3 separate regions of the Homo sapiens genome follow, and regions 1 and 2 are each linked to region 3. Evidence: promoter capture Hi-C in human tissues and cell types (Jung and others, 2019). All regions are on one chromosome and are shown on one strand. Each heading gives the region's core, a stretch centred on a gene start or on the middle of the fragment in contact. The rest is flanking DNA. Distances are from core to core; before and after follow the strand shown.

What was found. The method cuts DNA at HindIII sites, captures the fragments that hold promoters and counts their contacts. A contact is called where the count stands out against the background at its distance.
Region 1: a contact is called between a fragment that was not itself captured here and the fragment with the promoter of SEC14L6 in region 3, in 1 of the 25 tissues and cell types used here (spleen).
Region 2: a contact is called between a fragment that was not itself captured here and the fragment with the promoter of SEC14L6 in region 3, in 1 of the 25 tissues and cell types used here (aorta).

Annotation. Positions count from the first base shown.
Region 1 is chr22:30,977,523-30,981,054 of GRCh38, reverse strand. It overlaps TUG1 (taurine up-regulated 1), which reads right to left. Exons shown (of 3, transcript NM_001396518.1): 3 at 1,660-3,532. Among named protein-coding and RNA genes, the nearest start is that of TUG1, 10 kb to the right of the region's middle. The HindIII fragment of the contact is 3,375 bases long and covers 447-3,532 here.
Region 2 is chr22:30,898,703-30,901,834 of GRCh38, reverse strand. The region is part of intron 12 of OSBP2 (oxysterol binding protein 2); the gene reads right to left. The region is part of intron 2 of LOC107985544 (a long non-coding RNA gene); the gene reads left to right. Among named protein-coding and RNA genes, the nearest start is that of MORC2-AS1, 22 kb to the left of the region's middle. The HindIII fragment of the contact is 3,788 bases long and covers 1-3,132 here.
Region 3 is chr22:30,545,073-30,548,385 of GRCh38, reverse strand. It overlaps SEC14L6 (SEC14 like lipid binding 6), which reads left to right and starts at 1,645. Exons shown (of 12, transcript NM_001193336.4): 1 at 1,645-1,757. The coding sequence starts at 1,704. The HindIII fragment of the contact is 18,463 bases long and covers 1-3,313 here.

The DNA of each region.
Region 1 (3,532 bases), core at 885-3,384, 430 kb before region 3:
TCACTGCAAACACTGCTTCCCAGGTTCAAGAGATTCTCCTGCCTCAGCCTCCCAAGTAGCTGGGATTACAGGTACCCAACACCATGCTCAGCTAATTTTTTCTTTCTTTTTTTTTGAGATGGAGTCTTGCTCTGTTGCCCAGGCTAGAGTGCAACAGTGCGATCTTGGCTCACCACAACCTCTGCCTCCTGGGTTCAAGTCATTCTCCAGCCTCAGCCTCCCGAGTAGCTGGGATTACATGATTAACCATCATGCCTGGCTAATTTTTGTATTTTTGTAGAGACGGGGTTTCATCATGTGGCCAGGCTGGTCTTGAATTCCTTGACCTAAGGTGCTCCACCCACCTTGGTCTCCCAAAGTGCTGGGATTACAGGTGTGAGCCACTGTGCCCAGTCTATCCACTTTAAATTGTCCTATTGTCAACAATTACCTGGCCCTCCAAATTCTACTCTCAACAGGCACGATTCCAAATGACAAGAAATGATATCATTACTGTTTTGTCACCCTTAACTCGTAGATTTATCCTCCCAGGGACACAGAACAAGAGCTGGTGCCATTATCTGTCTCAGTACAATAATCAATTCCAGATCCTCCATATGTTCCTGTGGGTTAAAGGCCTACCATTTAACTCTCCGGCCTCCATTTCTGTAATTAGTCAGTCATTTGGTCACCAGCAATAGAAACCCATTTTGGCTGACAAAAAGGAAACTTATTTTAAGGAGGCTATGTGGTAGTTTATACAATCAAAGGAAAACTTGGACAACCAGGCTTGGAGAATAGGAGCCAGCATACTTTGGAGATCTCCTTTCATAAACTTTTAAATGGTTTCTTTAGAACACTACGATCAGAATGACTCAACTCTGATCACTTTGTGGTCACCTTTCTTAAGAATCAAAGTCCTTGTGGGACAGAACGAGCTTGCATTGCTCAAACCTCAGCCAGGGGGCATGAGGCCGGAGTACTGTCATCTACATTTCCACTACCACCACACAGAATGGGAAGGAGCAGCTTTCTAAAGGATAAGTGGGGATGTATGATTAAAGTAAAGGGGAAGTGATTTTTGGCAAGCCAAAGCAATGGATGTCCACTATACCTATATTTACATGATGGGGAGAAGAACCTACAATAAAGGAGTAGTCTGCAAGTTGAAAAGAAAATTAAAAGTATTATAGCACTTAAGGGAAGTGTTTCAAGAAGCTGGTGGGAGTTACCTGTGCTGCTGAAAGTTCATATTAGATGCAGGTGTAACGGATTTAGCAATGAAAAGGTCACTATTGACCTTAATTGCAGTGACATCAGAATATTTCAAGGATTTTTTAAAAAAAGTGACTTTCCCCCTGCTTTCTGCCTAATGTGGATACTGCAATAGTCTTAGCAGATCAACATCAGTCAAGAACTAGAATAATCTTTGATAAACCTTAAAACCACAAAATTCTGATAATCCAAATAAACTCACTTGAAGGAGACATGCTTAAAAAACTAAGGAACAATTACTAAGCTCTGAGTTTCTCAAACAAGCAATGGTATAGCAATCTGTCAACTTGAGTAATGAATGATTTATATTTAATATTTACTAACATAAAAGTAGGCATTTTAAATCATTTGATAAAACAGGCTCAGTGTTGAATAACTTGCCAAGGTCAAACAGTAAGCACTAAATTTAATTTTAAAAATTCTTTATTTAAAATAAAGTTTAAAAATAATGTGGGTAGTGTAAAATATTAATACAGAAATGTATAAAGTTGAAAGTTTCATGTGATCTACACTGTTCAAAGAAAGCTGTGAATAGACCTTTCTATGCATTTATAAACATAAGCACACACATTTTAAAATGAGTTCACACTGTACACTTTTCTATTAATAACTTGTTTCACCTAATGTATCATGGCCATTTTTCCATACACAATGAATGTACTTTATTCATTTTAACAGATACGAGATATTCCTATATGGCTGAACCACACCTTAACCTATCCTTTAATGACAGACATTTAGGTTTTCTATTACTTTCTACCATGTCATTTTTACGCTTCTGTGGGATCTTAAATATTCCCTCAGTTCCTGTTTCATTTTGTCTTCCACTTTGGAAAGTAATTTCAGTGACCATGACCTCTAGCTTAATAAATACTTGGATCTGTCAAGTCTCAATGTTGGTAGATATATTAGTGTGGATTCAATTTCAAGTAACAGAAACCCAACTCAAAGTAACTTAAGCAAAAAAGGGTATTTATTGGTTCACATAACTGAAAAGTCCAGGGGATATTCTAGCTTCAGGCACGGTTGGATCCAGGGGCACAAACGCTGTCATCAGGATTCAAGTCTCTCCATATTTTGGCTCTGCTTTCCCCTGCACTGGCTTCATTCTCTACATGGTAGGCCCTGTTAGTTTGAGGTTTTCATCCTACAAAGCTAAAGCACCCTCAGTAAAGAGAGCTTCTCCTCCACAGTTCAGATGGATTTGCTGATTGATGAGGTCTGAATTACATGTTCACCCACAAAGCTCAAGGTTGGGTCAGACTGTCCAAACCACAGACTGAAAATAGGAAGAGGTGGTTTTAAGAAACATCAGGGAGTTGTTACAAGATGGAACGGATGCTGGGCAATTAAAAACTACTGATGTCCAGGATAAGAACAGATATGAAAAAGCTTAATCTCTGCTTAAGAAGTTGAATGGTAACAGCTGGCATGGTTTCTTCCTTGGTTATAAAAGTATTCTAAAAAAACACCATGAGAGATAAGTTTGTCCTGTCCTCAAGAAGTCTGTAATCCATTTGAATGGAATAATAATCATGTCCAATAGCATATGTTGGATGAAACCACAGTTTCAACACAAGCAAACTCAGTGGTCATGAGTCTGAGAGCCCAACTGTCCTGCTGATCTGAAGTAAGACAACTAGCCTTCTACATCAAATAATTCTGTGAGGCAATTTGAGTCAGCTGTAAATTTTAAGTACAGTGGAAACTTTTCTTCTTTTGCTAGGTTGAACTGGTACAGTTCTGTGTGTACTGGTGAATCGGACTCATTTCTGCACTACTGAAGGAGAGAAATGGACGCGGCTTTCGAACTGCTGTATTCCTTCCAGACCCGATAGATGAGGTTCCAGGTGCTGAAAATGAACAATTACATACAGGAATAGAGGCCTACTCTGCACTTAAAAATATCTTCAAAAAAGTTGCTGGTCAAGGAGTATGCAGCAATGGTCCTTCCTGTTGTGAACATTGAGTCCTAGTGGGTGAGGTGTGGGTTGTTACTATTAAAAATCCTTGTTGTATTGGGCACAAGATAGACTGAAATTGACTGTAGTCCTCACGGTGAGTCTAATTGCAGCAACATGTGAAAAAGGCAGGCAAGAGCTGAGTCAGGAAAATAGACAAGCAGGGTACCTTCAGAAAGGCCAGCCATACCAATAGCCAGAATATGATCTGGAAGAACCAGCAGATCAATAAGGAAGTTCTGTAAATTAGTTTTTACTCTGGGTACTCAGGGGTTAATCCATAGGGCTTATTCTGGATACAGTTTTCTGATCTTACA
Region 2 (3,132 bases), core at 31-2,530, 350 kb before region 3:
TGGAGTGCAGTGGCACCATCTCGGACACTGCAACCTCCACTTCCCAGGTTCAAGCACTTTTCCTGCCTCAGCTTTCCGAGTAGCTGGGATTACAGGTGTGTGCCACCACGCCTGGCTAATTTTTATATTTTTAGTAGAGACAGGGTTTCACCAGGTTGGCCAGGCTGGTCTCGAACTCCTGACCTCAGGTGTTCCACCGGCCTTGGCCTCCCAAAGTGCTGGGATTACAGGCGTGAGCCACCACGCCTGGTGGAAAGCCAAACTGTTTTCCCGAGTGTTGTACCAATTTACAACTTTTGCCAGCAGCAATGTATCAGAGATATTGTAGCTCTACAGCTTCTTCAACATACATGTTTTTTATGTGATGACTGGCCATATATGTTTTTTCTGCAAAATTCTTGTTCATGACTCTTGCACATTTTCCCATTATTTTTACATTAATTGTTGATTAGAAGTTCTTTATGTGGGCTGGGCATGGTGGCTTTTGCCTGTAATCCCAGCACTTTGGGAGGCAGAGGCAGGCAGATCACCTGAGGTCAGGAATTTGAGACCAGCCTGGCCAACATGGCAAAACTCCATCTCTACTAAAAATACAAAAATTAGTCGGGCGTGGTGGCGCACACCTGTAATCCCAGCTCCTCAGGAGGCTGAGGCAGGAGAATCGCTTGAACCCGGGAGGCGGAGGTTGCAATGAGTCGAGATCACATCACTGTACTCCAGGCTGGGCGACAGAGTGAGACTCCATCTCAAAAAAAAGTTCTTTATGTGATCTTTTAAAAATTTTTATTTTTAACTATGATAAAATACTCTGTATTCTTGATAATAATCCTCTGTCAAGTGTAGGTAGATATTATGATTACCTTCTCCAAGTTTGTTTATGCATCGTCTTTTCACTTTCTTTAAATTGCCTTTTAGTGAGTAAAAGTTCTCAATGAACAAAAGTATTTTAATATGGTCAAATATATGAATGCTTGTGTCTTAATATTTCCTTAGGGTCTAAAAGATATTTATCCTTTTCAACTTATTAAGTCATTGTTTACAATAAGTCAAACAATATTACTGTAAGGCCATTATTTGATTTTCTTTATAACGTGAGGGAGGGATTAAGTGCATCTTTTTCCATAGGGATTCATTTGGTGAGCCATTCCATCTTCCCACAAGATCTGATATGCCACCTTTGTCATATATCAGAGGTACATATATCCATGGGTCTGTTTCTGGGCTCACTAATCTGTTCCATTAGAGTTTCAAAATAAAAATCCTGGTATCTAGTAGGGTAAGTCCTCTCTGGTCTTCTTCAGAAATGTCTTGGCCCTTTATTCCTCAATATAAATTTAAAAATTCTAATATCAAGTTCCATGAAGGTCCCTATTGGGGTTTTGTTTGATTTACTGACTTTTTAAATCATGACATCTTTACAATACTTTCTATCCGTGAACATTATATCTTTCTCCATTTATTTAGCTCTTCTTTGGTATCTCTTATTAAAGCTGTATAATGTTCTCTATAGAGGTCTGGATTATATTAGATTTATTACAAGGTCCTTGATGTTATATGCTGTTAATTTTTTTTTTTTTTTTGAGATGGAGTTTCGCTCTTGTTGCCCAGGCTGGAGTGCAATGGCATGATCTTGGCTCACCACAACCTTTGCCTCCTGGGTTCAAGTGATTCTCCTGCCTCAGCCTCCAAAGTAGCTGGGATTACAGGCATGCGCCGCCACGCCTAATGTCGTATTTTTAGTAGAGATGGGGTTTCTCCATGTTGGTCAGGCTGGTCTCAAACTCCCGACCTCAGGTGATCTGCCTGCCTTGGCTTCCCAAAGTGCTGGGATTACAGGCATGAGCCACTGCGCCCAGTCTTGGTGTCTTATCTTAAATTGCATTTTTCTAGTTGTTTGCTGAAATGCAACTGGCTTTCGTATATTAATCTTGTATCTAGGCACCTAAAATGATTTTTCTGAATCTATTGAAATCTGTTAATATGATTACTCTATGGATTTTCTAATATAAAATCATTCTATATACCCAGGATAAATTCAACCTGATTATAGGATGCTATCTTTTTTATACACTGTTGGATTGGATTTTCTGATATCGTTTTAGATTTTTGCTTATATATTTATTAATATAAGTGAAATAGGGTAGAACTTTTATTTTCCTACTGCTAGTTTAGCCTAATTTGGTATGAGGGTTATCCTGGCCTCACAGTTTAGGAGAGGTGAATATTTCCTTTTTCTATGATCTGGAACACTTTATATGAAATTGGAATAATATGTTTCTGAAAAAATAGGGAGAATTCATCTGTAAAATTATCTGGGCCTCGTGTTTTCCTTACAGTAATTTTTAAACTATTGCTTCAGTTACTTTATTATAGGACTATTCATGTTTTCAATTTCTTCTAGAGTCAGTTCTTTTTCTTTTTTTTTTTTTTTTGAGATAGGGTCTGCTTTGTCACCCAGGCTGGTATGCAGTAGTAGTCATGGCTCACTGCAGCCTCGACTTCCTGGGCTCAAGTAACCTTCCTGCCTCAGCCTCCTGAGTAGCTGGGACTACAGGTGTGTACTACACATGTGTACTACAGGTGGGACTACACATGGCTAATTAAAAAAATTTTTTTTTTGTAGAGACAGGGTCTTGCTGTTGCCCAGGTTGGTCTTGAACTCATGGGCTTAAGCAATCCAACTGCCTTGGCTTTCCAAAGTGCTGGGATTATAAGCATGAGCCACTGTGCCCAGCTAGAGTTAGTTCTTGTTATATTTTTCTAAGAATTTGTCCCTCCAATCTAAGTTTTAATTATGTCTTTATACTTTATATGTCACATTAAACCTTTTTCATTAATATTTATTTCTATCTTGATCAGTCTTGTCAGTAGTTTTCTATTTTGACAGTTTTTTTATGCCTCAAAGAATCAACTTTTGGCTTTGTTTTTTTAATTGATTTCTGCTTTTATTATTATTATTATTATTATTATTAATATAAAGATGATATCTTGCCATATTGCCCAGGCTGGTCTCAAATTCTTCAACTCAAGCAATCCTCCCGCCTCAGCCTTCCAAAGTGCTGGGATAATAGGGTTTGGCTGTGTCCCTACCCAAATCTCATCTCAAATTGTAATCCCCACATGTCAGGGGAG
Region 3 (3,313 bases), core at 396-2,895:
AGGAGAATTGCTTGAACCTGGGAGGAGGAGGTTGCAGTGAGCCACTGCCCTCCAGCCTGGGCCACAGAGCAAGAAGACTCTGTCTCAAAAAATAAATACATAAAAATAAGGAAGAAGAAGAAGAAGATGGGCCAGAGGTGCTGGGAGCAGGGACCCAGTGGGAGGAGACAAGAGTAGGGGAGAGTTCCTGATTTTACCCCTTATGGCTCAAGCTCCAGCCTGCAGTGTGTGGGGTACTGGGGAGGCCCCACCCTGTAGAAGAGGCAGATCTGCTCATTGCCCTCTTCCAGGGCTAAGGGGGACTCTCCTGGGACTTAGTAAGGCCACCTATGTGCATGCCTCTGGCAGGAGCCAGGCATGTGGGATACAATGTCCTGAGTAAGCACCAGGTCCAGATAGTCCTGATTGTCACTTACTACATGGCTGTATGGCCCCAGGCATGCTGCTTCCCTCTTCCAGGCTCTGTCAGGTAGGGAAGAACAGTCTGGGGCTCAAGGAGCACATGAAGCCTTTGGACTAGAACTTGACATGGAGCCCAGCAAACGGTTTCTGATTAGAGCTAAAGCTGGTGATGTTCTGCCTGTATCACCTCAGCCTCACTACTCCCCAGCAGCAGCACCTGTGTTTCTCTGCCTAAGTACGCTCTCCAGCCTTCTGAATTGTGTGCACAGCAGGCCAGCAGTGCCAGCAGAATTGACAGCCCCTGGAGCAGCCCTCAACTGAAGACTGTCCCGAGATGCTGCATAAATACCCCAGCTCCCTCCCCACTCAGGCAAGGAAACGCTGATGGGCAGGTTCCCTGCTGTCTCCCAGAAGTCCCCACTGGGATTGAGCTCTTCTGTACTTCCTTGATAACCAGGCCTATACAGCTGCCTTCCGTTCTCTGTCTCATTTCCACACTTCCCTACTTGTGTTTCTCAGGACACCTCCCTAATAAACTTGCCCTGAACTCCTTGTTTCAGGGCAACCCAGACTACTACAAATAACTACTGTGTTCCAGGCCCCGTGCACACCGCGTGATCTCATGTGTCCTCACCTTGGGCTCTGGCTTTCTGCTTGTCCAGTGGGTGGTGGGGGCAGATGTAGCCAGGAGTCCCTCCTCACCTCTCATCCTGGCTCCCAGGCCAAGTGTGGCCCAGCTCAGGATTGCAAATCCACCTGTTTGGGTCTGGGCCTGGGAAGTTTCATCCTCAACCCTGAAGCCATGTGCCTTAACATCTGGGATGAATCATGGGCAGTTGCTCTGGACATGTCAGGTGGTAGATGAAGCCTGGGATGAGAGTGAAGGCATGATGACAGTGACTTCCGGGCCTCTGTTGGGGGTGAGAGATGACTTCTCCTGGCTCAAAGAGGCATCCGATGGGACCACAGGAGTAGAGGGTAGGGGACTGAGAGGCAGGGTGAACAGCCGCCTCCGTGTGTGTGTGAAATCAGGTGGTGTCAATTTCAACATGTCATCAACGCTCCGAGGAAACATCGCTGTCCTAATTTTGCAAGTGAGGATGTGAACCCAGGGCAGGCTGAATCCAGGGCCCCATGCCTGAGGCACCTAGTAAGGAATGAGCCCCACCTGTTGCCCTGAGGCTCACAGGAAGTAGTGGGATTTCTGGGTGGTGATAAATGTGGGCATGGCTACCAGCTGGCAAAAGGCAGGCCACCTGGAGGGAGCCACAGAGTGGAGCCTGGACCCATTCATGGGCAGCATGAGTGGACAAGTGGGTGACCTGAGCCCATCGCAGGAGAAGTCGCTGGCCCAGGTGAGTGAAGGGAGAGACTCCTACACCAGCCTCAGTTTCTCCTTCTGCCACGGGGAAGGGCAGGACTCAAGGTCCCTGAGTTTCTTCTGAACTCTCCAGCTCTGGGTCTCTTCCCAACCCTGAGGGGCTTGGTAGCCAGAGGCTACACCAGCACTAACCAATAGAAATACCACGCCACCACAAACGCAAGCCACATAGGTCATTTGAAATTTTCTTTCTTCCTTTTTTTTTTTTTTTTTTTTTTTGAGACGGAGTTTCGCTCTTGTTGCCCAGGTTGGAGTACAACGGCACAATCTTGGCTCACTGCAACTTCTGCCTTCTGGGTTCAAGCAATTCTCCTGCCCTAGCCTCCGGAGTAGCTGGGATTACAGGCACCTGCTACCACGCCTGGCTAATTTTTGTATGTTAGTAGAGATGGGGTTTTAACCACGTTGGTCAGGCTGGTCTGGAATTCCTGATCTCAGGTGATCCACCCACCTTGGCCTCCCAGAGTGCTGGGATTACAGGCATGAGCCACCATGCCCGGCCTTTTTGAAATTTTCTAGTAGCTCCATTAAAGAACTAAAAAGAGGCTGGGCGCTGTGGCTCATGCCTGTAATCCCAACACTTTGGGAGGCTGAGGTGGATGGATCATTTGAGGTCAGGAGTTTGAGACCAGCCTGGGCAACAGGGTGAAACCCTGTGGCAGGAGAATCGTTTGAACCCAGGAGGTGGAGGTTGCAGTGGGCCAAGATTCTGCCACTGCACTCCAGCCTGGGAGACAGAGCAAGACTATGTCTCAAAAACAAAACAAAAACAAAAACAAAACAAAACAAAACAAAAAAAACCTAAAAAGAAACAATTGAAGTAAAGTTTAATGATGTATTAACTTCAATATATAATCTAATCAATATAAAAACAACTGGTCTGGTGCAGTAGCTCGGGCCTATAATCCCCGCACTTTGAGGCGGGAGGATCACTGGAGCCCAGGAGTTCTGGCAACATAGCAAGAACACATCTTTACAAAAAATTAAAAAATTAGCAACATAGGGAGACCCCATCTCTAAAAACAACAACAACAACAACAAATAGCTGGGTGTGGTGGCCCATGCCTGTAGTCCCAGCTACTCGGGAGGCTGAGGTGGGAGGATGGATTGAGCCTAGGAGGTCGAGACTGCGGTGAGCCAACATCGTGCCACTGCACTCCAGCCTGGGCAACAGAGCTAGACCCTGTTTCAAAAAAAAAAAAAATGAGTGTTTTGAGGGGATACTGAGTCTTTGGAATCCTGTGTATTTTACACTCACAGCAGACCTCAGTTCAAACTAGCCACATTTTAAGAATTTGTGGCTACCATATTGGACAGGGCTGGTGAAGGCTGCTGGCCTGCTGGGGAGGCTGCATTGGCAGGTCACGTCCTCAGCTATGAGCTGGAGGAGGCAGGAACAGGGTGCATTTTCGTCTCTAGCCTGGGAGGAGTCCCTTGAAGGTCCTTAGGGTCTTTCCTTCGTGGTCGCACACGGCAAGCTTGGGGTCCAGGAAGACTCACACGGTTCCATGAGCATGGAGGCAACGACGG